Linked DNA regions of Homo sapiens: all the other regions are linked to region 5. Evidence: promoter capture Hi-C in 16 types of primary human blood cells and fetal thymus (Javierre and others, 2016). All regions are on one chromosome and are shown on one strand. The core of a region is centred on a gene start or on the middle of the fragment in contact, and the rest is flanking DNA. Distances in the headings are between cores, read along the strand shown. Region 1 has its middle 120 kb from the start of LINC02225. Region 2 has its middle 160 kb from the start of LNCBRM. Region 3 has its middle 140 kb from the start of LINC02225. Region 4 has its middle 70 kb from the start of LINC02225. Region 5 holds the start of GAPT (GRB2 binding adaptor protein, transmembrane).

Evidence for each region. Contacts are between HindIII fragments. The CHiCAGO score rates a contact against its expected background, and 5 or more counts as called.
Region 1: a fragment that was not itself captured here is called in contact with the fragment with the promoter of GAPT in region 5 in 2 of 17 cell types (total CD4 T cells and M2 macrophages); the score reaches 7.0 in total CD4 T cells.
Region 2: a contact is called between a fragment that was not itself captured here and the fragment with the promoter of GAPT in region 5, in 1 of 17 cell types (activated CD4 T cells). The highest score is 5.3, in activated CD4 T cells.
Region 3: a fragment that was not itself captured here is called in contact with the fragment with the promoter of GAPT in region 5 in 1 of 17 cell types (naive CD4 T cells); the score reaches 5.3 in naive CD4 T cells.
Region 4: a fragment that was not itself captured here is called in contact with the fragment with the promoter of GAPT in region 5 in 1 of 17 cell types (total CD4 T cells); the score reaches 5.4 in total CD4 T cells.

The regions. Positions count from the first base shown.
Region 1 is chr5:57,773,191-57,777,997 of GRCh38, reverse strand. No RefSeq gene overlaps it. Among named protein-coding and RNA genes, the nearest start is that of LINC02225, 120 kb to the left of the region's middle. The HindIII fragment of the contact is 2,884 bases long and covers 594-3,477 here.
Region 2 is chr5:57,730,509-57,735,196 of GRCh38, reverse strand. No RefSeq gene overlaps it. Among named protein-coding and RNA genes, the nearest start is that of LNCBRM, 160 kb to the right of the region's middle. RefSeq lists an enhancer at 1-181. The HindIII fragment of the contact is 941 bases long and covers 2,664-3,604 here.
Region 3 is chr5:57,753,297-57,758,159 of GRCh38, reverse strand. No RefSeq gene overlaps it. Among named protein-coding and RNA genes, the nearest start is that of LINC02225, 140 kb to the left of the region's middle. The HindIII fragment of the contact is 4,533 bases long and covers 1-4,421 here.
Region 4 is chr5:57,827,058-57,831,990 of GRCh38, reverse strand. No RefSeq gene overlaps it. Among named protein-coding and RNA genes, the nearest start is that of LINC02225, 70 kb to the left of the region's middle. The HindIII fragment of the contact is 1,846 bases long and covers 1,715-3,560 here.
Region 5 is chr5:58,488,242-58,493,190 of GRCh38, reverse strand. It overlaps GAPT (GRB2 binding adaptor protein, transmembrane), which reads right to left and starts at 1,756. Exons shown (of 3, transcript NM_001304431.2): 1 at 1,650-1,756. The HindIII fragment of the contact is 6,945 bases long and covers 1-4,020 here.

The sequences.
Region 1 (4,807 bases), core at 786-3,285, 720 kb after region 5:
AACTAGACAGTTTTCTAGAATTAGACTTCTGTTTTGTCTAAGAATCTATTCATACGACCTCTGGAAAGACCCAGCAATTTCTCAGCAAGTCAGTTTCTGCTCCTAATATATTGTTTAAATTCTATAAAAAGATATTTCTACCTAGTTAAGGCTTACAAATAAATGATAAAACTGTTATATAGCTTAAATCAAACTATTCTACTGACAATTAAATGATGCAATAAGTACTCAAAACTCTACAATGCATTTGTTATACAAGAATGAATATTCAATTTTTGCTTCTATAACTTCTTTCTATGGCCCAATTCTTGATACATCCCCAAGTTAACACTTCTCAGAAATATGCTAGCTCTTTTGAAGCTTTTATCAGTGTAATGTTGTTAGCAGTTCTAGTGAAGATTTAAGTTAAGAGGCTAAAGCTGGTAGCCAAATGGTAGTTTGGGGATTATCTGGGAATTTCAAGGATCTCTGTTAGCACTGTCCCCATAGTATGGTTGATGACAGAGTTTTCAGTGACTCATCTTTGCAGTCAAATTAAGGGGTTTTGGGAACCACCCAGGTCTTCAAGGCCAGTTGTTAAAAAGTAACAAGCTTCCTACATTATTAGAAATCGGGGGCTTGTTATCTTGCCTAAGGAACTGGATAAACTGAATCTTACTCATTTGACATTTAGAAGTCATTATGGAGAATCAGAAAAACTCTCATGTTGGTTGGCTAGTAAGCTGGAGTTTTATTAAGCCTTGTAAAAGTATAAGACAAATAAACATAGAGTATGAAGGGTTGCCCAGTTGTAGGTCTATGATAGTATGAGAGAAGTAGAGTAGACGAGTCGAGAAGTGGAGTTAAAGATAGTATAGAGAGAAGAGAGTTAAAGAATTCTGATTTCTTTCTCTGAGTTTTAATGTCTGACCTGCCTTATTCCAATTTCAAGGTCAGCCAGCAGACTAGCACCACAAACACTAATTAGAAAAGCCCTGTTCAACATTCTCCTCTATCCTTTTGCCATAGTGGAGCAGTTAATAACAGAACTGCAGCAGGGCTCTCAGCTAGTAGTAAATTGAGAACATTTTCATGGGGATTGTGTGCTGCTCAATCTAGTTCTTAACCCAGGAAGGTTGGTTAGTATAACATTATGAAATGCTTTTCAAATGTCAGCTATTATTTCTGCAGTGATCTCTTACTGATGTATGTTTAGGGCTCAACAGACTGTTATCTAATTTCTCACCATTCCCCAAGTTCTGCCACAAACAAGCTGAGGCACATCGAAATCTCCCACACCATGCCATAAAGCAAAGTTAAGCCTTCTCAGCAGATGCCTATTAACAATTAAAGCAAAGTTTGGAAAGAGAGCTTTTAGTTGAGAAATGCTGCAGGCAGTCAAATAGGGAACAGAAGAGAAGCACTTAAAAGTTTTTGATGTAATTGTCTGGATAGATATTAAAAGCAACATATAATACTTATCTAATTTTCTCCGCAGACTGAGAAGGCAAACATGTCTTCCTAGAACGATATGGGAAAAGATAAAGTAAGCAGGAGGAAACAAGGATCTGGCTTACAGATGCAGTACTACTTCTTCATACAGAAGAATATAGAACTGGGAATTTTTCAATCAAGTTGCAGATTGCAAGGAACCTAGAGACCAGAGTACAGAAAGACAAGGTATCAGATAGCTCTGTGATGTCCAGAGGGGTGCAGATTTTCAGTTGGGAGAAGTGCATTTATTGACTTAATTTGTAATATTTTACCATGAGCAAACAGGATGACTTGGCTTACTTTATAGCCCATGAGGCAGAGCACAGACACTCAAATAATGGTAAGCCCTATAAACAGAGATCACAGCTGTTCTGCAAGCTCACAACAAAGCACTCCCTCATCAGAGAAAACATCGCATAAATTTTTAGGCACCTGGACAATCTTGTTAGTGATATCTAATCCTCTTTGAAAATCCAGGCTAAGTCTGTAAGCATTTTAGCAGTTGTCAGCAGTTTAAAAAAAAAAAGGGTGGGGGGCGGGGGGACATTCTGTTTTATTCATAGTGTTCCCAAGCAAGTCCTTTCTGAAAATTTTAGCACTATGTTTAGGGTACGGAAGAGGAATCCCCATGCAAAACCCTCTCCTAGTGTCTTTCCAGTCCAGGGCCCTCACACACAAGTCCTATCTTTGAGATATTCCATTCCTGGAGTCTCATTCTTAGCTCCTCCAAAACTTTGCTGGAGGCCTATTAAGTGCCAGAAACCACATGAGCACTTAGTAAGTAGTATCTCACTTACTTCACACAACTGTTTGTAAAGTACATAATTATTTCCATTATTATTACATTTTGCTGATGAGGAAACAGACTATATGAAGTCAAGCAATAAGTTAATTGTTGGAGATGTGAAGCCAGAAGATCTTGACTTCAAGGTCTGTGCTCAGTGCTGTTAGCCAACCTCTATGCTAAAAGGCTGCCAGAGCCTTTTTTTAAGACCAGTTGTTCTGGTCATACCATTGGGTTTTACTTAGCCAATGTGGCTTGAAAGTACCATGCATCATTCTAGTTCTCGTGAGACTATTAGCACTTTAAAGGCAGGGACAGTGCCAGTACAATGAGTGGCCTGTAGGACACATTCAAGTATTTGTTGTGAATTGTCCCTTGTTCTCAGGAGAAAACATGATGATTTGGAAGTTGTTTACACTTTTGAGTGTGGCTAATCTTAATCAAAATGGCTTATCAGTTTAGACAACTTTTTAAATCTCTCTCAGCCTTAGTGTCCTCAGATATAACACAGGGCATAACCTCAGGCCATTATCTACCTCAGATGTTATTTTGATGATGGAGTAAGTCAGTTATGACAGAAGCCTACACAAAAGAATGGCATATTTCAGGGATTTAATATATGTCTCTTATCTTCCCTGAATGTAATGGTGCACAGACACCATTAGATTTAAATCTTTAAGAGAAAGAGAAGTCAATACCAAATAGTAAAGAGTAATAATCATAAAATAAAAAAAACAAAAGTCCTGCAAAGCTCTGTAAGAAATGCTTTTGCAAGAAGAGTTACTATATCCTCCTAGAAGCATGTTATTTAGCAAACTGAGAAGTACATGTCTAGTAGGAATATCTAGCACTCATTCTGACAGAAGTGATTCACTTTAAATCATATAATCCAGTTGGGAGCTTGTACTAGTCAGAGTTCTCCAGAGAAATAGAACCCATAGGCTGTATAGTCATAACCACATTTTGGTCAATGTCGGACCATATATACAACAGTGGCCCCATAGATTATAATGGAGCTGAGAAATTTCCTATTGTCTAGTGACATCATAGCTGTCATAATGTCATAGCTCAATGCATTACTCATATCTTTATGGTGATGTTGGTGTAAACAACCCTACTGCACTACCAGTCATATAAAAGTATATGGTAGTGTGCTAGGCCTTCACATTCACCACCACTTATTCACTGACTCATCCAGGGCAACTTTTAGTCCACAAGCTTTATTCATGGTAAGTGCTCTGTATAGGTGTACTGTGTTTTATATTTTATACTATACTTTACAGTACCTTTTCTATGTTTCCAGGTGTTTTGATGCACAAATACTTATCATTCTATCACAATTACCTACAATATTCAGGCTATACTATATAGCTTAAATATGTGGTAGGCTACACTATTTTGTTTTGTGTAAGTATACTCTATGATGTTCACGCAATAACAAAATGCCCTAATGATGCATTTCTCAGAGTGCATCCCCATCATTAAGCAATGCATGACTATATGTAGATAAGTATAAAGAGATTTGTTAAGAGGGATTGGCTCAAGTAATTATGGAGGCTGAGAAGTCTCATAATCTCCCACGTGCTAGCTGGAGGCCAAGGAAAGCCAAGCCCGAAGGTCTGAGAACCAGGGACGTAAATGGTGTAAGTCCCAGTGTGTGTCCAAAGGCCAAAGAACTGTAGGGTGGGGGCAATAGTGTAAGTACGGATCCAATTCTGAAGGCCCCAAAATTAGGAATGCTGATATCTGAGGACGGGAGTAGATGGATGTCCCAGCTCCAGAAGAGAGAGAGCAAATTCACTCTTCCTCTGCCTTTCATTCTCTTTGGGCCCTCAATGGATTGGAGGATGACCACTCACATTGATGAGGGCAATCTTGTTTACTGAGTCTACTGATTCAAATGCTAATCTCCAGAAACACTCTCACAGACTCACCTTAAAGTTTTACCAACTATTTGGGGATCCCTTAGCCCAGTTACACTGACACATAAAATTAACCATCACAGAGCTGACTTCAAGAACTCTGAAATTTGTAAATAATTCCTGGAATGTAAGCTGAAGAAGCAGTAGCTATCTAAAAACATTAGTGTGTGTGTAAGATTTTTATAGTAAGTTAATAATCAGTTCAAGCCAATCCAGGTATTTAAAGGAAGCCTCGCACACTCAGACCACCAAAAGGCCATGCTAAACGGAGTCTTAAGAATAATACAGTAGGATGAAAAACATATTTTCAAGTACAGCTTATGGAACAAGAATTTGGAGTGTTCTTGTGTACAGTGGAAATTATTCCAGTTCCAAGTAAGAAAATACCCAACTAGGAATGGCTTAACCAAGTAGGAGATTCTTTCTCTTACACACTACAGTTTGTCAAAACTGAAGTACCGCCAGCTATAAGAGTAATCATTATTGTATGTTTCTAAAGAAACATGCTGCCAAGTAACTATTACACATGCTTCTATATTACTTAGAATTTTTATTATATATAGATGTATTAAACCTGGATCTGTATCATATCACCTATCTGCATACTTTAAAATGAGAAATAAACTGG
Region 2 (4,688 bases), core at 1,885-4,384, 760 kb after region 5:
ATTTGTTCATGATCTGCTTACGAGTTTCAAAGTTGGGGAGTCATTTTAAAAAATCATCTGTAATTTACATGCTTTGCCGACATTCCAGAAGGTGTTTTTTTTTCCAGTTAAGAACCATTTTGTCCTTTAGGGCGGTCTCTGAGGGGAGTTTGCTCTGGGTGTTTGTAGCACAGTGCAACTCTGCTATAGTTTCAGAAATCATGGATTGTTTTTCTTCTTGATACGTATCTATAATGACATTTTACTATTTTGCTCTTGATTCAAGGCTATAGCTATTCAATTAAATCTTGAAGTCCCACTTTTATTATCTAAATTTTGGCAACCACAAAAAAACTTCTCTCTACTCACTGTAACCTCCATAGGAAATATAATGCAGAGAATTTATACTTACATGGGAGTCCATGAACAATTAGAGTCTTTCCAACATTTCACCCGAGCATTTCTCCAATAAATTAGTAAAGCTGCCACCCCTTGCCTTCCCTACTGATTTTGGTGAAATTGGAGAGAAAAATTGAGCTCTGCTTTGCACTGGTACCGATCTTTAGCCTCACTTTAATGTCGACAGATGTTTTAGAAGTGCATTCTCCAAGTTGTTAGGAAAATCCTTTTCCCTGAACGCCTGCTGGCAAGTTAAAATTGAACAGTATTCTTTGTCTCTTTCCAATTTAAGTAACAAGTAAAATAACTGTTTTTGTGTCTGGCAGGAATAATTCATCTTCATCACTTCACAAAGAACTCTATCCTTGAACAGCCTGCAGTATGACTATATTGCCAGCAGAAGGGAAACAAGTCAAAGAGCAAAGCAGAAATGTTCCTAGGAAAGATTGCTACTTTTCTATCAAAAATGTGCAATGGCAGAGGTCTCATGAAATGAAAAATACAAATGGTCTAAAAATAAGTAAACACTATCTATCATGCTAAGCCTTTGTGTATCATCCTGCTCAGAGCAAGTAAAATGTAAAATCAATGCTATTGTTGGAATAGGGAAAAATCTCTTGCAGGTGTTGATGAAAACAGAAAGTCCTCTCTGTCTTTCCACTTACCCACCTTAAGTCTCTAAAGTGTCACCTTGATGAAAGCTAAAGGGAAAAACAAGATACAAAAATAACTCAAAAATTGCCACCCTCCACCTGCATCAGTCATTTGGGAAGAAAAGAAAGTGGGAGACTGAAAAAAAAAAACAGATTAAATAGCACAAGATAAACTGAACCCCAGAAAAATGGGAATGTGGAAATAGAGGTATGCTTTGAATTAAAACAAAAGGGAGACTCTGCCCAGATGAAACCAAAAGGTCATCAGTTTAGAGTAGGATTTTTGGTTTCATGATATGTGGCCTAAAATAATGATTATAGTAAAAGCCATATTCAGAAAAATTGTTTATATGAATTTCTTCTGATGGCAGTAGGATTATACTGTGACACTAGACTGATTCTGCAACTTATTCAGTAAACATGGATTAAGCTGTGACACCAAAAGAAATCAAAGGGGCATATGCCAGGCCCTGTGCTAGGCACTAGAAATACAAAGGTGAGTAAGAGAAAGACACCACCCTGAAGAGCCAGCCATTGGGAAAGGAGGAATTCTGAAGTCCGGTAAGCTGATTATATAATATTTCAAAAGAATTATCTAAAGCAGTGGCTCCTCAACTTTAATGTCCATAAGAATCATTTGTGGATCCTGTTAAAAGGGGATCCTGTTATTCAGAAGATGGTGACAAGATCCCCAATGGTGTTGATGTTACGTTGTTGGGCTACATGTTGGGAAGCAAGCCCTAACTCACAATTGATTTCAGCTTTTTCTCCAGTGAGCTCTTTTAGCACATACCCTAATGGCATAGGAATCCAGGAGGGCATTTATTTGACTGTGCTGTGTGTGCTACCCGGGAAGTAAGAGTGGAAGTCTCTGTGGCCTGACTCTGTACACCAAGTCAAGGGAGGCTGCTCTCCACTGCTTCTGAAGCCTTAGGAAATCTACTAAATCTGCTGCAGCAGCAAAGCAGTTTAGTGATGAAAAGGAGCCTCTTGATTGGAAATCTTGCTAAGGGCTAGAGTAGATTTTAAAGTAGATTATAGAATTTCCTTACCTGGGAGTCTAAGAAAAAAAAAAGTGCATAGACTTTTGTCTGCCCTAAAGACGAACATGGTGACTCGGCTTTTTAAAAACTTACCCTACTCTGAAAGTCTAAGAGAAAGAAAGTTTATGAAAGTGAATTTCAGAATTTGTTCAGTACATTCCTATTACAAACATAAAAAGAGTTGGCCTTTGGTCAAATTGAGTGTAAAGATAGTTGGCATATTTAATCAAGATCCTTCCTCTCTAGGTTGACGCCACAGGAGAAAAAATAATCAAAGATTCTGGTATGTTGGCAAAGGTAGCAGGATAATAACTAGATATGAAAATCAACTTTCTTTAAAAAAAAGTGCTTATTTAAATGTTTATTTGAAGCTTAAATGACATAAAAAAAACAGTCAAAGGAAATCCTTGAGCTTTAAGAATTATAGCTTATAAACCAAATATAATGCAAATATATTCATGTCTGCTATGGACCCGACGCTCTCCTACCTGCTGTAAGAGAGCTTAGTCACTTTCCCATTACCTCCTGTTGTTCTTTGTATCAAACTTTTACACTTTAACAGCTCTTTCTTCTCAGCCTAAAACAAGCTTAACCTAGCTCTATCTTAACAAAATAAAAATTTCTACCCTGTCCTCAAATCCCCATACTGCTTACGTCTCCCCTTTTTCAGTCCTTTCTTAGAAAGTTCATCCACCTAGATGTATTAATTTTCTCACTTCCTATTTTTGGTTTTTAATGCCCCTTTTTTTTCAAGCAGTAGAACACTCTTTTTCAAATTAAATCTTTTTTGAAACATCAACACACACATACACACAAAGAACAACTTCACTGGTTGAGAGACGGGATGGAGACCAGAGAACCCTCCTCTCAGTCTTTCATTTACTCCTGCCTGCCCCGTCAGCCCCTCAGCAACCTCTGAACAAGACCCGAGGCTCTGCCCCACCAACTGCTTCATCCATGGATACCTGCCTTTCCTTCTCTCTAAACCAAGGAAATGATCAAAGTACCTAGGATCTCCTAAAGTCAATAGGCCCTTTCTGGTCCATGTCTTGCTTGATTCTCCAAAGTATTCAATACTACAGCCAAATGTGGAATTCTTTCTAATTCCCCTCTATCTGGTTCTCTCTAGTCAGGGCCTTTGCACATTCTGTTTTCTCTGTTCTAATCCCACATTGACTTTCCATCTCACCAAGATTAAAAGCCTAATTTATTTTGATTACGTTTAATCCCCTACTTAATCCACAAAAAAGCCCCCTCCTCTCTGCCTTTGTTTTCATCGGCTCTCTCAATATCTCTAGCCATGCCAGTGGCCTCACCCCTCCTTGACCTCTTCAAGACTCTCCTTCTTGTCTTATTGGTATGGCTTGTTTCATTAGATCCTTCAGGTATTTGCTTAAATGGCACCTTCCTAGGTGCTTCCATCCTCATTTCCTGCCTCACTTATCTTCTTAACACTTGCCATCATCTAACATATACTCTACTGTACTTGCCTATTCTTTATTCTCTATCTCTTTCCCTAGAATATAAGCTTCATGAAAGCAGGAATTGATCTTTGTTTATTGAGTGGTTTGAGAGTATGTGCTCAAAGAAATGCTTGAGAAACTGAATTAACTGTATTTGTTAAATAAATAAATGAATTGATAATTAATGAATGAATTGCTGTCTCCTTGCATGTCTGCTTGAAAAAACCCCTGTATTAATACCTCCAGTCCCATCAGATCAAAACAACCTCCTTCTTGAAGTTTCCAATTCCTGAATCAGGAAGCATGAAGTTCCCCCTGTTTATTTTGCCTCTACCAAAGCTGGTAACTCTCAAAAAGGCTTGTTGCTGTGTGACCTTCATTACTTTGGTGAATTGGTCTTAGGCTAGGGTCCGCCCTCAGTATTACCAGTTCAGAAACTGGATTGGTCATCACAACAAGGTGAGTTCATCTCTCAGACATGGTCTTGAGATGCTCTTGAGATCAATCTTTAAACATGAACACCAATTAGAGTATCAACTCAGCCAGTTTTGTCCAGGACAGTCTTGATTTTAGCCCTGAAAGTCCAGTGTCTGGAGAAAACCCTCAGTCCCAGGCAAGCCAGCATGGTTGGTAGCCTTAACACAAATTTACCTACTGACAATGATGAATAGTTTACACAGAAATAAGAATAATCTAATTTTTTAGGCAGCACAATCTTTTCCTACAGGCACACCATAGGACATGCCAGATCATCATCAGAATGATGTTTTGTGAGCATGGTTTGAAAATAAGGTGAGTTGTGTTGGTCAAAGAAATGTTCATTGGCACCGGGATAAAATAGACTAATGCACATCCATCAGACATTAGAAAACATCCTGACAGAGATTATTTGTCCCAAACTCCTATGTCTTTATCTTCATTAGGCATATCATCACCAATGGGGCCAGCTACTTGAAGCTAGATTTCTATGCCCTGGTGTTTGGGTGGGCACTGCCTCATTTTGCCCACGTGATAAACTTTTTTCTGTGTTTCTGGGACTAATCAATCAACTGCTTGATTCATACACATTTCTGTAAGATGACTTAGTATAATCACACACTAAGTCATTATGAGTTGATTTTTTAAAAATTAATTATCAGACAGCAAATCCT
Region 3 (4,863 bases), core at 906-3,405, 740 kb after region 5:
ATGCCTACAAGAATGAAGCAGAAGTTTTTGTTCATCTTCTCAACATCCTTCTGCCTTTCTGATGGAAGCCCAACTAGGTCCAGATATATACGTTCCTCCAGGTATAATTCAGTTGTTTTTAGTATATTCAAAACGCTGTGCAACCGTCATTATTATCTAATTCCAGAACATTATCATCACTTCAAAAGAAACCCCACACCCATTAGTAGTTGCTCTCTACTTCCTCTTCCCCTAGTCCCTCGCAGCCATTAATCTACTTTCTGTCTCTAGAGATTTGCCTATTCTGGGAATTTCATATAAATGAAATCAAACATGATATTTTGTGACTGGCTTTTTTCACTTAGCATAATGTCTTCAAGATTCATCCATGTCATAATATGTATCAATACTTCATTGCTTCATATTGCCAAATAATAGTCTGGTGTTTGGATACATCACATTTTATTTATCCATTCATGTTCAGTTAATAAACATTCAGACTGTTTCTACATTTTAACTATTTTGTTTAATGCTGCTGCAAACACTTTTGTACACACTTGGTGTGAATAAAAGTTTTACTTCCCTTGGGTAAATACCTAGAAGGGTTTTGGTTTTTACTCTGAGTGAGACTGTACATCACAGAAAGTTTTGAGCAGAGAAATAATTTTGAAAGAACTATCCTGGATTCTATGTTAAGAATAGATTGCAGGCTGGGTGTGGTGGCTCACGCCTGTAATCCCAGCACTTTAGGAGGCCGAGGTGGGCGGATCACAAGGTCAGGGGTTTGAGACCAGCCTGATCAACGTAGTGAAACCCCGCCTCTACTAAACATACAAAAAATTAGCTGGGCATGGTGGCGGGCGCCTGTAATCCCAACTACTCAGGAGGCTGAGGCAGGAGAATTGCTTGAAACCGTAAGGCTGCAGTGAGCTGAGATCACACCACAGCACTCCAGCTTTGGTGACAGAATAAGACTCCATCTCAAAAAAAAAAACAAAAAAAAAAGAATAGACTGTGATTGGAAAACGATGGAATCAAGGGAATCAGTTTGATGCTATTTAAGTGAGCCAGATAAAGATAACTTAGACCAGACATATAGCAGTAGAGGTAGTGAGAGATGATTACATTCTGCAAATATACTGCAGGTGGAGCTAACCAGATTTCCAGATAGGTTGGATGTGGAATGTGAGTGGAAATGAGTAGCCAAGGAAGATTCCAAGGTCTTTGTCCTGAAGAACTCAAAAAGTAGCAGTGCCATTTATTGAAAGGGAAAATATTGGGATAGGAGCAGGACTGAAAGAGAAGATCGAGAGTTTGGGGTTGGTTGTTCAGTAGCTACCCAAGGAGACATTTGGGGTTCATAGTTAGATCTGCAGTTTGGAGAGGGCTGTGTATGAGCTGAAGATACATGTGTTAGAAGTCAGTATATAGGTGGTATATAAAATATAATCATCTCTGATCCTTTTAAACCTGGGTCTCATTCCTTCCTCCACCCCTCCAACCTTCTGTGGGCCCAGCTGCTTGTTTCTCTGGCAAATTCCCCAGCTGTATAAGAAAATGCCCTCAAAGTGTTAGTTCATCTGTTCTTGGGCATAAATGACCACATGGAAGCAAAAATGCTATGACCTCAATGCTCTTGTCTCGTCCAGCATGGAGGATATTTTGTCTTTTCTACAAGCCTTTTTCAATTCCAGCCCTGGTCAGCACTCAGTGTCACTGGCTAGAACCTTCCCTCATTGAATTCTTAACACCTCCAATGGTCCATTAATTCTTTGAGGGCAGACACTGCAGTATGGTCTGTGCTTCAGTCCCCCCTGCTATTGTAACAAATTATCATACTTAGTGACTTAAATCAACAAAAACTTATTTTATAGGTCTGGAGGTTAGGAGCATGAAATCAGTCTCACTGGGCTAAAACTGAGGTATTGGCAGGACTGTTGCTTTCTAGAGGTTCTAAGGAATAATTCATTACCTCGTGTTTTCTAGCTTCTAGACACTACCTGCATTCTTTGGTTCATGGTCTCATTTCTTCATCTTCAAAGCCAACAACTCCAGGCCAATCTTCTTTTCATGCTGCAATCTGTTTTGTTCTCCCTCTTCCGCTTCCTCCTTACTCTAAAAAGCACGCTTGTGATTATATTGGGCCCAGCTGGATAATCCAGGATAATCTTCTTATTTCAGTGTCAGCTGATTGGCAACCTTAATTCATCTGCAACTCTGATTCCCCTTTGCCATACAATCTAACATATTCACCAGTTCCTGGGAATAGAATGTGGACATTTCGGGAAGCCATTTTTTTTCTAACTACCAGAGTCTGAAATCTATAGCTCCTAGCATAATGCTTAGGGCATGCCAGCACTCAAAAAATGCAAATGAATGAATGAATGCATCTCTCAGTGCCTACAGCTGGGTGTTTTCCTCCCAGAAAATAGCCTACTGTTATTAATTATATTCCTGCCTACTCCATTTTTAATGGGATGTAGGGGAAGGAAAAGAGATGGAAAGCAGTTCTGAAGAGTTTTTACATTAGCATCTCCTTGGATATTGGTAGATGAAAGGAATAGAAAACCTTACAGGAATAAAACATTTAATCCTCAATCCTAAAAAAATCTTACCTGTAGCTTACAGTATGAAACCTACTCTTGTCGTAAGGGCATGTGACTCTTAAGCAGTCCAGAGAATTAAAACAGTTTGATCTTCTCATCAACACTAATGTTAAAAATAATTTTAGTGTATTTTGCCAAGGCTCTACATAGGTATCAAAACCAGGCCATCAAAGCAGTGAGAGCCAACCAGCAAAATTTCTTGATCTCTCTATCCTTGTAGAACTCTGCCTTTCCCCATTACACTTTATTTTTTTATTATTTCTTTGTTACCCCTAATTAGTTCATGAGCTTCATACAAATAGCCCCTCAGCTCATTTGCCAAACTCATTATTGTGACTCTAGACTTGGTGCATAGTAGATATTTCCCAGTCAGTGAATGACTTTGCTAAATTACTACTCACAATGTACACATGGAATCACAGGCAGCTTTCTCATCATCAATGCTTTCATCTTGAGATCTTGGAGACTCAACTTTCTTTATGGTTCACTTAGGACATTTCTGAATATTTCCATTTCACTCATTCTTCAGATATTGACCTCTCAATTGTCTTGAAAAGACAGTTATTTGCCAATTAAGTCAGCAAACTGTTCTATGCCCCATATAATGAAATAAGAACATTGCATATTACCACTGTGATTGTGTTACTGGCAAAGTCATGGAAGTAGAAATTTCCCTTCTCTGTAACTTGAGGTTGAGTCTTCACAAAAGAAACATTTGTGGGTGTCATATGAGAACATGTTGTAAGCACAAGTTATAAATTGGGTTCATTTGATTTTGAGTCAGTTTTTTAAATCTAACTCCCTTGAATTTGTGAGTAATCTTGTGCAATTATTAAGAATATGATTCATTCTGAAAATCAATTGCAAATACTTTGTACTTTCAAAGATGAGCTGTTTGTCATGATAGAAAACTAATTTTTCAAGCAGTGGTTTATAGAACCACAGAATTTCCTCAGAATTGTTGGGAATACTATTTATGGGAAACATGTAAAGTGTTTTATCAAATCCCACCCCAACATGGCATGAAGAGCTTTGGTTCCAGGACATGAAAAAAAAATTGTTTTAAAATTTCAAGGTGCAGGCCAGGCATGGTGGCTCATGCATGCAATCCCAGCACTTTGGGAGGCTGAGAGGCAAGATGATCACTGGGACTCAGGAGTTTGAGACTAGCCCGGCCAATGTGGTAAAATACCGTCTCTACTAAAAATACAAAAATTATTGGGGGTGTGGTGGTGCATGCCTGTTGTTCTAGCTATTTGGGAGGCTGAGGCAAGAGAATCGCTTGAACCCAGGAGGTGAAGGTTGCAGTGAGCCGAGATGTGCCATTGCACTCCAACCTGGGAGACAAGAGTGAGACTCCGTCTCAAAAAATAAATAAATAAAATTTAAAAATAAATTTAAAAAAATTAAAGGTGCAGAGCACATTAAAAGGAAAGAATATATTTAGTGGACGTGAACTGTCTTACTGGCAAATACTGCTTATCACTTCAGGACAGTTCACCAGGTAGCTTAGAATAAAAAGATTCTAAGTGTTGGAGATGAAACAGTAAAGAACAAAAATAGCAGACATACATTTCTGCTCTCACAGTTATAACCTAGCAGAGAACAAAAGACAAAAAATAAACAATAAAAATCTATTATGTGATAAAGTAGAAAGCAATAAGCACTAGGGAAAAATCAGAGAAGAGAGATAGAAAAGGCTGAAAGAGTTCATTCCCTTTTATTGCAGAGTAGCATTTCACCATATGGGTACCCCTCAGTTTGTTTATCCATTTACCCAAGGAAGGACATTTGGGGTTGTTTCCAATTTGGGGCTATTACAGTACAAATAAAGCTTTTACGAACATTTGTGAACAGGCTTTTGTGTGGATATAAGTTTTAATTGCACTAGAATAAATACCCTGGGGTCAATTACTGAGTCATATGGTAAGTATATGTATAAACTTGTCAAAAATACTGCCAAACTGTTTTCAGGGTGGCTGTTCCATTTTACATTCACACCACCAATGAATGAAAGATCAGTTGCTCTGAATCTTTGCTGGAACTTAGTATTGCCAGTACTTTTTATCTTAGTCATTCTAATAGGTATGTAGTAGTATTTTGTTGTGGCATTAATTAGCCAATTCCTAATGACTGATAATGTTAAACCTTTTCACGGGCCATCTATACATCCTCATTGGTAAAGTGTCGTTCAAGTGTTTTTGCCCATCTTCTAATTGAGTTATTATTGAGTTCAGATAGCTTTTTAAAATATATTCTGGATACAAGTTCTCTGTCA
Region 4 (4,933 bases), core at 1,388-3,887, 660 kb after region 5:
CTCTGTAGTAAGATTAGGAATCACAAATACCTACATAAATAGGATGATAAGATGAATATAGAAAATGTGTAAACATGTAAATCTAATTTAAAAAAAAATTGAGGCATCTAAAAAGAAGTCTGGGAACAAAAACCAGGCCTTCCAAGCACCATGTCTTTTCATCTGCCACACTTCCACCACAGCTCCACTTAGGACGGCTTTGCCTTTCTTCCTTTCAGGTCCAACTTGTCTTCTCTGAAGCCTTTTCAACTATCTCAGCCTTCAGTGATTTGTCCCTCCTCCAAATTGATGCAACTTTTATTATCTCTTCTCTGCTCCCCTAAATTAAGAATTTAAGCTTATTACAGACACAAGGAGAACTAAATAATAGACCTTTTTTTCTTCCTGCTTCCATTTTCCAGTACACTTGGCAAGATATTTCCATTCCCACCTTCTCTATACCAGAAAAATCCTACTCATTCCTCATGGCCAGATCAGCCCCATTGCTTTTTCTCTTTTACACCTGTCTGGACTCTCCTCACTTCTACCCTACACTAATTATTTCCTCCTCCATGGCCCTCATGTAAATTTTTCTCATTAAACAAAAGTAGCAATTATATTATTGTGAAATTGTTGAGATTAAAACTCAAGTGGGCCACTCACACTGCTTGACATCCTTTTGGGTTGCTCAATCCAATTCACAATAACTAGTTACACCTCCTCTCCCTTCAAACCTCTGAAACAGTTTTGTTCCTTCTGGTATTTAGCATATGAACTTGCCTGTTAGTTTAAAGGGTTCTCAGCCTTTAGAATATAAATCTGTCTCCAGGATTTCATTAAAATATTTTTAACTCAAACTTACACTTGTATGAATTCCATAACAAAACTTCTATAAGTATACCTTAAATGTGTTTTATGGATGGCTGTACTGTATTAGTCCGTTTTCCCGCTGCTGATAAAGACATACTTGAAACTGGGAAATTTACAAATAAAAGGTTTTATTGAACTTACAGTTCCACATGGCTGGGGAGGCCTCACAGTCAAGGCAGAAGGCAAGGAGGAACAAGTCACATCTTACATGGATGGCAGCAGGCAAAAAATAAAAAGTGAGAGAGCGAGAGAGCTTGTACAGAGAAACTCCCCCTTACAATACTATCAGATCTCATGAGAACAGCTATCATGAGAACAGCACAGGAAAGATCTGCTGCCATGATTCAATTAACTCCCACCAGGTCCCTCCACAACATGTGGGAATTCAAGATGAGAATTGGTTGGGGATACAGCCAAACCGTGTCATGTAACCTCATCCAGGATTATTCATTAAATCATAGTTAAGAATTTCCCAGAATATGGGAAACAGAGAGTATGTGATTATCTGATGAGAATCCCAAATATTAAATATTTCCCTAATATTAAATACTCAAAACAATCCACAGTGAACCATTGCTGCCCTCCTGCCTTCTTGTTGCAGTGGAAGACATGCCTCTTCTTCTATCTAAAACCATCATTTGTATGTATCCCATCATTTATCACTTTTCTATGAGCTATAAATATTTAACATCCCTTCTTTATTGCCTTTTATATAATCAAATTCTCAGGTAGATTCTGTCATCTGGCTCTTAACCATGCATGTGCCTCTTCCACTCAAAAAACAAAAACAGCCTCATTCAACTCTTCATTCTCCTATTCCTATCCTCAGCTCCTTAGACCTTTCACAGCTAAATTTCTGCAAGCTTGCCTATACCTGCTGTCACCATTCTCTCACTTCCCACAAATTTAATCCACTTCAATCTAACAATCTAAAGAGGCATAGACATTTCTCTATACCTATTTGCCATCAACTTTCACCATGTATCCTCTTTCTGGGGTGGCAAGATTTTGCATATAAAAATACAGAATGCCCAGTTAAATTTAAATTTCAGATAAGCAAATATTTTTGTCAGATTTCTAGATGTAATATGGGACTCACATGCTAAGGGTATTTGTTGTTTTCTGAAATTAAAATATAACTAGCCATCTTGTATTTTATCCAGCAACCCTACTGCTACCACACAGTGTCCAGCTATCCTGGATTTCTTCTGGTTCTTTCTATTTGAAATGTTTTTTATTGCCACGGCGCTTTTACTGATGCTGGTTGTATTAGTTTCCTAGGGCTGTTGTAACAAAGAACCACAGACTAGGTGGCTTAACATGATACAAATGTGTCGTCTCACAGAATTAAAGGCTAGAAATCCAAAGTCAAGGTGATGGCAGGGCTATACTCTGGGTCTTTGGGAAAGGATCTTTCCTTGTCTCTTCTGATCTGTGGCAGCCCAGGTGTTCCTTGGCTTGTGGTAGCATAATTCCAGTCTCTGGCTCAGTCTTCATAAGGCAACCTTCCCCATCTGTGTCTTCTCCTCTACATATAAGGACACTAGTCATATTGGAATAAGGGCTCATCCTACTCCAGTATGACTTCATCTTAACTAATTACATCTGCAATGATCTTATTTCCAAGTATGATCACATGGTACTAGGGGTTAGGACTTGAATATATATTTTGGGAGGACACGAGTCAATCCACAGTACTGGTTATTTTGCTGGGAATGTGCTGTTTTCTCCTTTTTTCCTAGATGCTCCTACTCATATCTACCCACTGTTTATGATTTTAACATAATTAGCACCTTTCTCACTTTCTTGACCAAATCCTATCCCACACTTTTGTGCTTATATAGAACCATATACTTCTTATCGCGCGTTTGGATTCCATGTGATGATTCTACATGCACTTGCTTGATAATCTGATGAGTGTCTATGCTCCCCACTGGACTGTATACTCCATGAAGGGAGGAACCAGGCCTGTTTGGTTCATTAATACATCCTTACCTCTGAGCAGAGTGCCTTACCTTTAGTAGGTGCTTCATAAAGACTTGTCTAGAAATCAGTGGATTAATTATTTAACAGTGTGAGTGCTGTGAGGAAAAAACATAATTTTTATATCCTCAAAGCCTGGTACAGGCCAGGAAGAAAATCAGTATTCAATAAGAAATGTCTTAGTAAGTAATTAGTTGTTTCTACCCCTACTCTTTAGTGTGTGTTTGTGTGTGTGTGCCTGTGTGTGTATGTTTCCTAAAAAGAGTATTAGGAAGACAATTACCCAGCAAAACAGAGATGGGTGTTTGCTTATTAAATATGTAAAACCCTAAATTCATTTTCCTTTGAGTTTCTTAGATCTAGATCTTGTCCCAAAAAGATCGTGTTTGACTTGTGTTTGATTAGTAAATGTACAAGCTCAATCAATTCCAAACACTTAGAGGAAAAGTTACTCCCCAAAATTTAGTTAAAACATGTTTATTAACCTTTTAAAATATTCTTTAATTTTATAGGATAAATTCTACTTACATGTCTTTTAAATGGCAAAGTATAAAAATGTCTCTAAATAGTTAGGTTTTTAAATTTACTCTTATAAGCTATGAAATGACAAAAACAGTGTCAGAATACCAAGAGTACTTTTGAGATGTTTTTAGGATTACATGGGTGCTTAAAATATAAGGAGGCCTAGGAACTTACAAGTTTTTGATACTGGATTTCAAAACAAAGCTTATTCATTGTTTCCATCCTCCTTTGTTAACTCCTTGGAAGATGTAATGCATCTCTGTATCTGAATCAGTGGAATCTTTTAGCCATATTTTTAAATGACGATGAACAAGTGGATTTTGCCAAAGTCTGTGTGGAGATAAAGGAACATTTATTGAAAACACATCTGCTTTGAGATTTCATTAGTTTGAATTTGGGGTTAGCCTCCATAGGTCCTTAAGTTCATTAGGAACCTATTTTTGATTGCTTTTGGTGTGGCATAGAATTGAAATAAACCAAAATAGTGTCTTCTAAGAATTTAACTGCTTTGATAAATTAGTGTTAAAAGTTGAACTTGTTAACATTTAGGAGATATGGTTTGGCTGTGCCCCCACCCAAATCTCATCTTGATTTGTAGTTCCCATAATCCCCACGTGTCATGGGAGGGAACTCATGGGAGGTGATTATGGGGGCAGTCTCCCCATGCTGTTCTCCTGATAGTGAGTGAGTTCTCATGAGATCTGATGGTTTTATAAGGGGCTTCCCCCTTTACTCAGCACTCATTCTCTCTCCTGCTGCCCTGTGAAGAGATGCCTTCTGCTATGATTGTAAGTTTCCTGAGGCCTCCCCAGCCATGCAGAACTGTAAGTCAATTAAATCCCTTTTCTTTATAAATTACTCAGTCTCAGGTATGCCCTTATAGTAGTGTGAGAATGAACTAATACATTAGGTGAGCAAAGGATATAATCAATTTTGCCTAAAAGGACTTAGGCAAGTAGATTTTTAATATTTCTCATGTAGTCTAAATCTCATTATGCCCAGAGCTGCTGGCTTTAATTATGTTTAATAGACACTTGACATAGTCATACTGTGTGCAATAGCATGTTATTGTATGCTTTGTAATTTAATGAGGTAATAAATATTAAGTGAACTTTCTTATGTATTTACTCTTCCCATGGAACTAGCCTGATCATTTTATCACTGTACAAGTATTACATATTATATATGATGAGTTAAGGTTTCTTTCAAATGGCTTCACTTGAGGGATACTCTAGGATTTGCTTTTGTTATGTGGTTCTCTAAATAATATCTATGTTTTAAAATAAATCTCATTGTTTTGTACTTTCTTGTAACTAATCTAGCACATCTAATTTATATACATTTCAATAAATTCCAGTAGTATTACAAATATTTATAGACAAGCAAAATAAGTTTCTTCAACTCTATTTTTTCTTTGTTTTTAAACAAGGTGTTTTAATGTAAAAGCATTTAAAAGTTTTTATTAAATCAAATGAAGAAGAAATGATTCAAGCTCTATCAAAGTAAAAGGGGTAGGGAAGAGACAAATTTGCAAGGAGTTTTTTTTTAACCTCCAAATAAAAATGCTTTTTTAATCTTA
Region 5 (4,949 bases), core at 507-3,006:
TTAGTTAAGAGTTTCAGCTTTTAAAAACTGTTACAGGGATTATCTCATTTAATCCTATAGCTGCTATATGTAGTGGGTACTATTCATATCACCATTTTATAGATAAGAAGAGAGGCTTAAAGAAGTTAAGTAACTTCCTTACAACCAAAATGTGACTGAATGAGAATTCAGGTAAAAATTTCCCCAAAATATTATTTATCCAAATATCTGTAACATGCTACTAAGTGCATCAGTCAGAAAATTTGTATAGCTTGATTAGCTCTGAGGTTCTCGAAGGTTGGAAATCATATATTATTTACCTTTGTATTACCAACACCAGCATTAGACACAGAATGACTAATCTATTAGACATTTGTTAATGAATGAAGTAATCTCCTTATGGGATAATAATAGTAACAATGAGAAGAAAAATAGAAATTCACAAAGTGGTGCTCTGCTTTCAGTGAGTTTTCATGAAAAGTTTAATGGTAATGAACGTTCATAAATTTGTCCAAGGTTAGAATATATTAATATGCAAATATTTAATTTGACATTTCATAAAAGAAAATTAAATAAGATGTGCAGCTAATTTATACAATTTTTTGATAAAAATACAGGGACAAGCACCCCAGATGCAGAAACATTTTAATCTCCTTGGAATTTTTGGGAGTAATATTGAGGTTGAGAACTGTATGGTCCGCCACATAAGATTTACAATCTGCAGGGTCCCTCCTTTATAAGGCCAGCCGTGCTTGTGTTCAAGGACAAAAGTTTAGCCAAATGACTTTAATCATTAGGACCTCATTTCCTGTCTGAAACAGATGAGCACCAATTATCTGCAAGATATTTTATGGTATACATGGTTAATGATTTAAGAAGTTATTTGCCAGAATATTTGAAATAAATTTACAAAATACACTTTAAGTATTGATTGAAATTAATCAACTTTTTGAAAGATACTAGGCCTGCAACAGAAGTCACGGTGAGGGTTGAGGAAGGCTAACTATTGTCACTTCTGTAGCTGAGGATAAGGCAATAAATTACTCTCTTAATTTTTAAGAAGAAAAGGCATTTTTACCATCTATGTTATTCTATGTAGAGTAGAAATTCTGGTACATCCAAAATATTAAAATTGTTTGTCTAAGAGATATTTACCAAGATAAAGACAAGAAGACTTTTTACAGAAAAAGAAATGCATCATTTTCTTCGAAATAACATTAGAGGAAAAAACCTGTGAGACATGAACAAAGACCTACTATAATGAAAAACATATTTTAAACAATAACCATTCAAATATAGTTTAACACTTAAATAATGTTCACTTTGACCAGTTTGAAAGAAGACTCTGTTTTCATTTTGGAAAGCAGTTCCAACAGGTTACCTAACAATTTGACATTTTTCTTAAAATCGCAAATTGTTGAGAAACTTCAGGAATTTTCAAGTAAGAGAATGCCCTGCTGTTTGGAAACAAGGTAACAGCAAAGCATAATCATATTGTAAAGAAACATTAACATCACTCTCAGTTTGTAAATTGGGTTTCCCCCTTACAGCTACGTAAGGCATTTTTTTCTAAAAACTGTAGTAAGATAAAAATCATTGATTAATTAAAGACAAACTTGTTTCTTATAGTGTTTAATCATCCAAATACCTTAAATCAGGTTCTTACTTACCTCAAGATTGGTGTGTCAAGCTCTCTCTTTTGTTCTTTTGGTTATGTTTTAAACCTGCATTGGGTTAGAACTTGTTCCTCTTTTTCACTTTGGTGGGTTACTTCCTTCTTTCCCTCCTTCGTTCACGCTATTTAATACTTGCAAAGTTTCCTGGCTCTAGAGGAAGTCAGTATCAGATGCAGCAGAATTAAGATAAATGGCGTGAGGTTTTGAATAAGGAAGTCTGGCCCTTCATCTTTGTCAAGTAATAGTTTTTTAACTGTGTCAGAAAATAATACGTAAAGCCTACATGGTTTTTTATTTGGGCCATATTTGCAGTTCCCACTTTAATATCAATAAAAGTCACTTCACTTGTACTTTGATTTTTTAAAAAAAGAAATATTTTAATTGTAGTAACACATAGGTCTTGGGCTTTTATTATTATTATTATTATTTACTTGTGTTGCTAGACCAGTCCTCTCTTCAAATATTAATATTATGTACCAATGCTCCCAAGTTATAGCCATACAGGTCAAATCAGTGTCCCAATTTGGGTTTGGAAAATGTTAACGTTCTTTTAAATTTATAAATAGGAATTTCCTAAGGTATGTTTTGAGGCCCATTACCCCTGAGATATGCTAGCAGCTCTTCCATCAAGTAAATGTGGGGAATACTGCTTCCCTGGAGATTCATGGGTACATCAGCATGCTAAAGGCTCTCAGCAGTCTTACAGCCAGCAAACAAAATAAAACCAAATAAGAAAAAGAAATTGTTTAACTTTGCTTAATAATAGTAGTCAGTATGTTCCTAGCACTAAGTACTCCAAACCTTTTGTGTAATACTCAGCAAATCTTGGCAACAACCCTGTGAGGGAGAAAAACTGTTATTAGTCCTATTTTACAGAAGAGGAAACAGAAGCACACAGAATGATCACTTGCCCGACAGAGCCTGCAGTTTGCCCCCAGCACCTGTGTGCTAAACCACTGCACTGGCTGCCTTGCTAGATTGAGTAACATGTTTCCCACATAGATACGCTTACCAAGAGCATCTCTTGGAGTCCAACTCATGGGAACACACACAGTGGGAGATGCTGAATTAGACAAATTACAGATGAATTCGACAGATGAGATGACAAAGTAATGGAAAATTTGTCTTTTAAGTTGTCTTGGAACTTTTTGAACCACAGAGGATTAACTTTGCATAAGGTGGTTTTAAAAAAGAGGATTTAGTTACTGAAATAACTACTGGACATTGGAAGGACAGGACGTATTATTAACACTTGCTGAGCACTGACATTATGCCAGGCATTGTGCTAAGAGATGAGGATGCAAGAGTGAATAAGCTCCCTGCAGCACTTAAAGCCAAGTAGAGAGGCTGCTGCGCCCACAGAACATTTCAGATCAAAGTGATAATGCCTAAGAAAGACAGGATTATGGACAGGGACAGTGGAGGTAAAGGAAAGAGGCATCCAGCTCAGAGGGTGGTCAGGGAAGGCAAGACCTGAGCTAAGCCTCATAGAATAAGGTGTTAAGGCAGAATAGGGGTGTCCTGGACAAAAATCTTACAGTGAAGGAGGTTATGAAGTTGTGAAGCTATGAACTTGATGTGCTCCACATTCTCACCACTATATTTAACTTCAGTATTAGCCACCCCTCCAAATAATATACACACTCACCTGCCTAGGCATACATCTGTAAGAAAGGCAATTTATACAATGTTTGTATAAAATTATGATTTTCTCTAGAAGGCAGGACAACTGGTGCTCATTCAGCTTTTGCCCTTTGAAGTTAAAAAAGTTGCTTAACCCCTTATTACTTTAGTTTTTCTAACGGAAAATAAAATGGAGGGAAAATGACTGGCACTTTCCTCAAATAGAATTTTTTTGATGTAATGGATATAATTATTCTTCAAGTTTATAAAAGAAATGCTGTATATATTCAAAATAGAATTATTGGATCATTGTCATTTGTAGGGATTATGTTTTATGTCTTGAATTCTATATTTTCCTACTTCCCAATCTTTGGCCTCGCAAAATACATATTTATTGTCTCCTTTCAGTTCCTTTTTAATCACAGCAATTATGTCTAGGTTTTCTTTTCCTGCTTTTTCTTCTACAGTTATACGGTTTGGGTAGTAAAGGGCTTAGGAAGTAGTTTATTGTTCTGTAGTGTAATATGGACTGGATCTTTCATCTAAGTAAATCTTCCTCTCCTATTAATTGGTGATAGCAACCACTTTACTTAATTGTGATTTAAGTTCCCAGCAATTTCTTGTGTGTCAGTTAGTATCCATTTCTTTTAACCCATGCCCTTTTTCAGATACTTGAACTGAGTAACATTAGTGACGGTAAAAATGAACAAATGTTTGTGTATGTGAATTTTATTTGAAAGCTTGCCAGACTAAAAGCATCTTTCTGGCTATTTTGGAAGGAGCCGCCAAACCCCATGCTACTTGTTAAGGGTATCATGGGAATTTACATTTTAGCATAAAGCATTATGTTACCTCGGAAAGGTAATGCATTTAGTAGCTAACAAATTTATTAACACTAATCGGTTTATGGGATTAACCAAAAAGTAACTAGAGTTTTAATAGAATGTGTCACTACCTTCCAACTAAAAGTTTTTCACTCTGTGGCCCAAAGAGTTATAAAAATTTTAAAGCGGCTGGGTGCAGTGGCTCACGCCTGTAATCCCAGCACTTTGGGAGGCTGAGGCGGGCAGATCATCTGAGGTCAGGAGTTTGAGACCAGCCTGACCAACATGCAGAAACTTATCGCTACTAAAAATACAAAATTAGCCAGGAATGATGCAGCATGCCTGTAATCCTGGCTACTCAGGAGGCTGAGGCAGGAGAATCACTGGAACCTGGGAGGCAGAGGTTTCGGTGAGCTGAGATAGCGCCATTGCACTCCAGCCTGGGCAACAAGAGCAAAGCTCCGTTTCAAAAAAAGAAAATTTTTTTTTAAAGCAAAAAAACTGAGCAGCTAAAGATGAAGAGAGAAAACATGAATAGGAACAGGTAAAAATAAAACCATTGTTGCTTTAGTTATGCTTAGGGCCAATCCTGGTAGCAGTTGGCAAACTTAAATCACATAATTTGTAGAGTGTAGGGGATGGATTTTACTGAAATGGGTCTCAGATGTTCATCAAGAGATTCATTCCCAAACTTGAATGTTTATCAAAATCATTTATGAAGTTTTAAACAAATACGTAAATTTCTAGGACCTTGAAGATTCTCCTTCATTACTTCTGGAGTGGGGCCCAGAGATCTTTATTTTAAAACCTTAGAACAACATTTAGGAATTTATGGGTAGGAAAATGA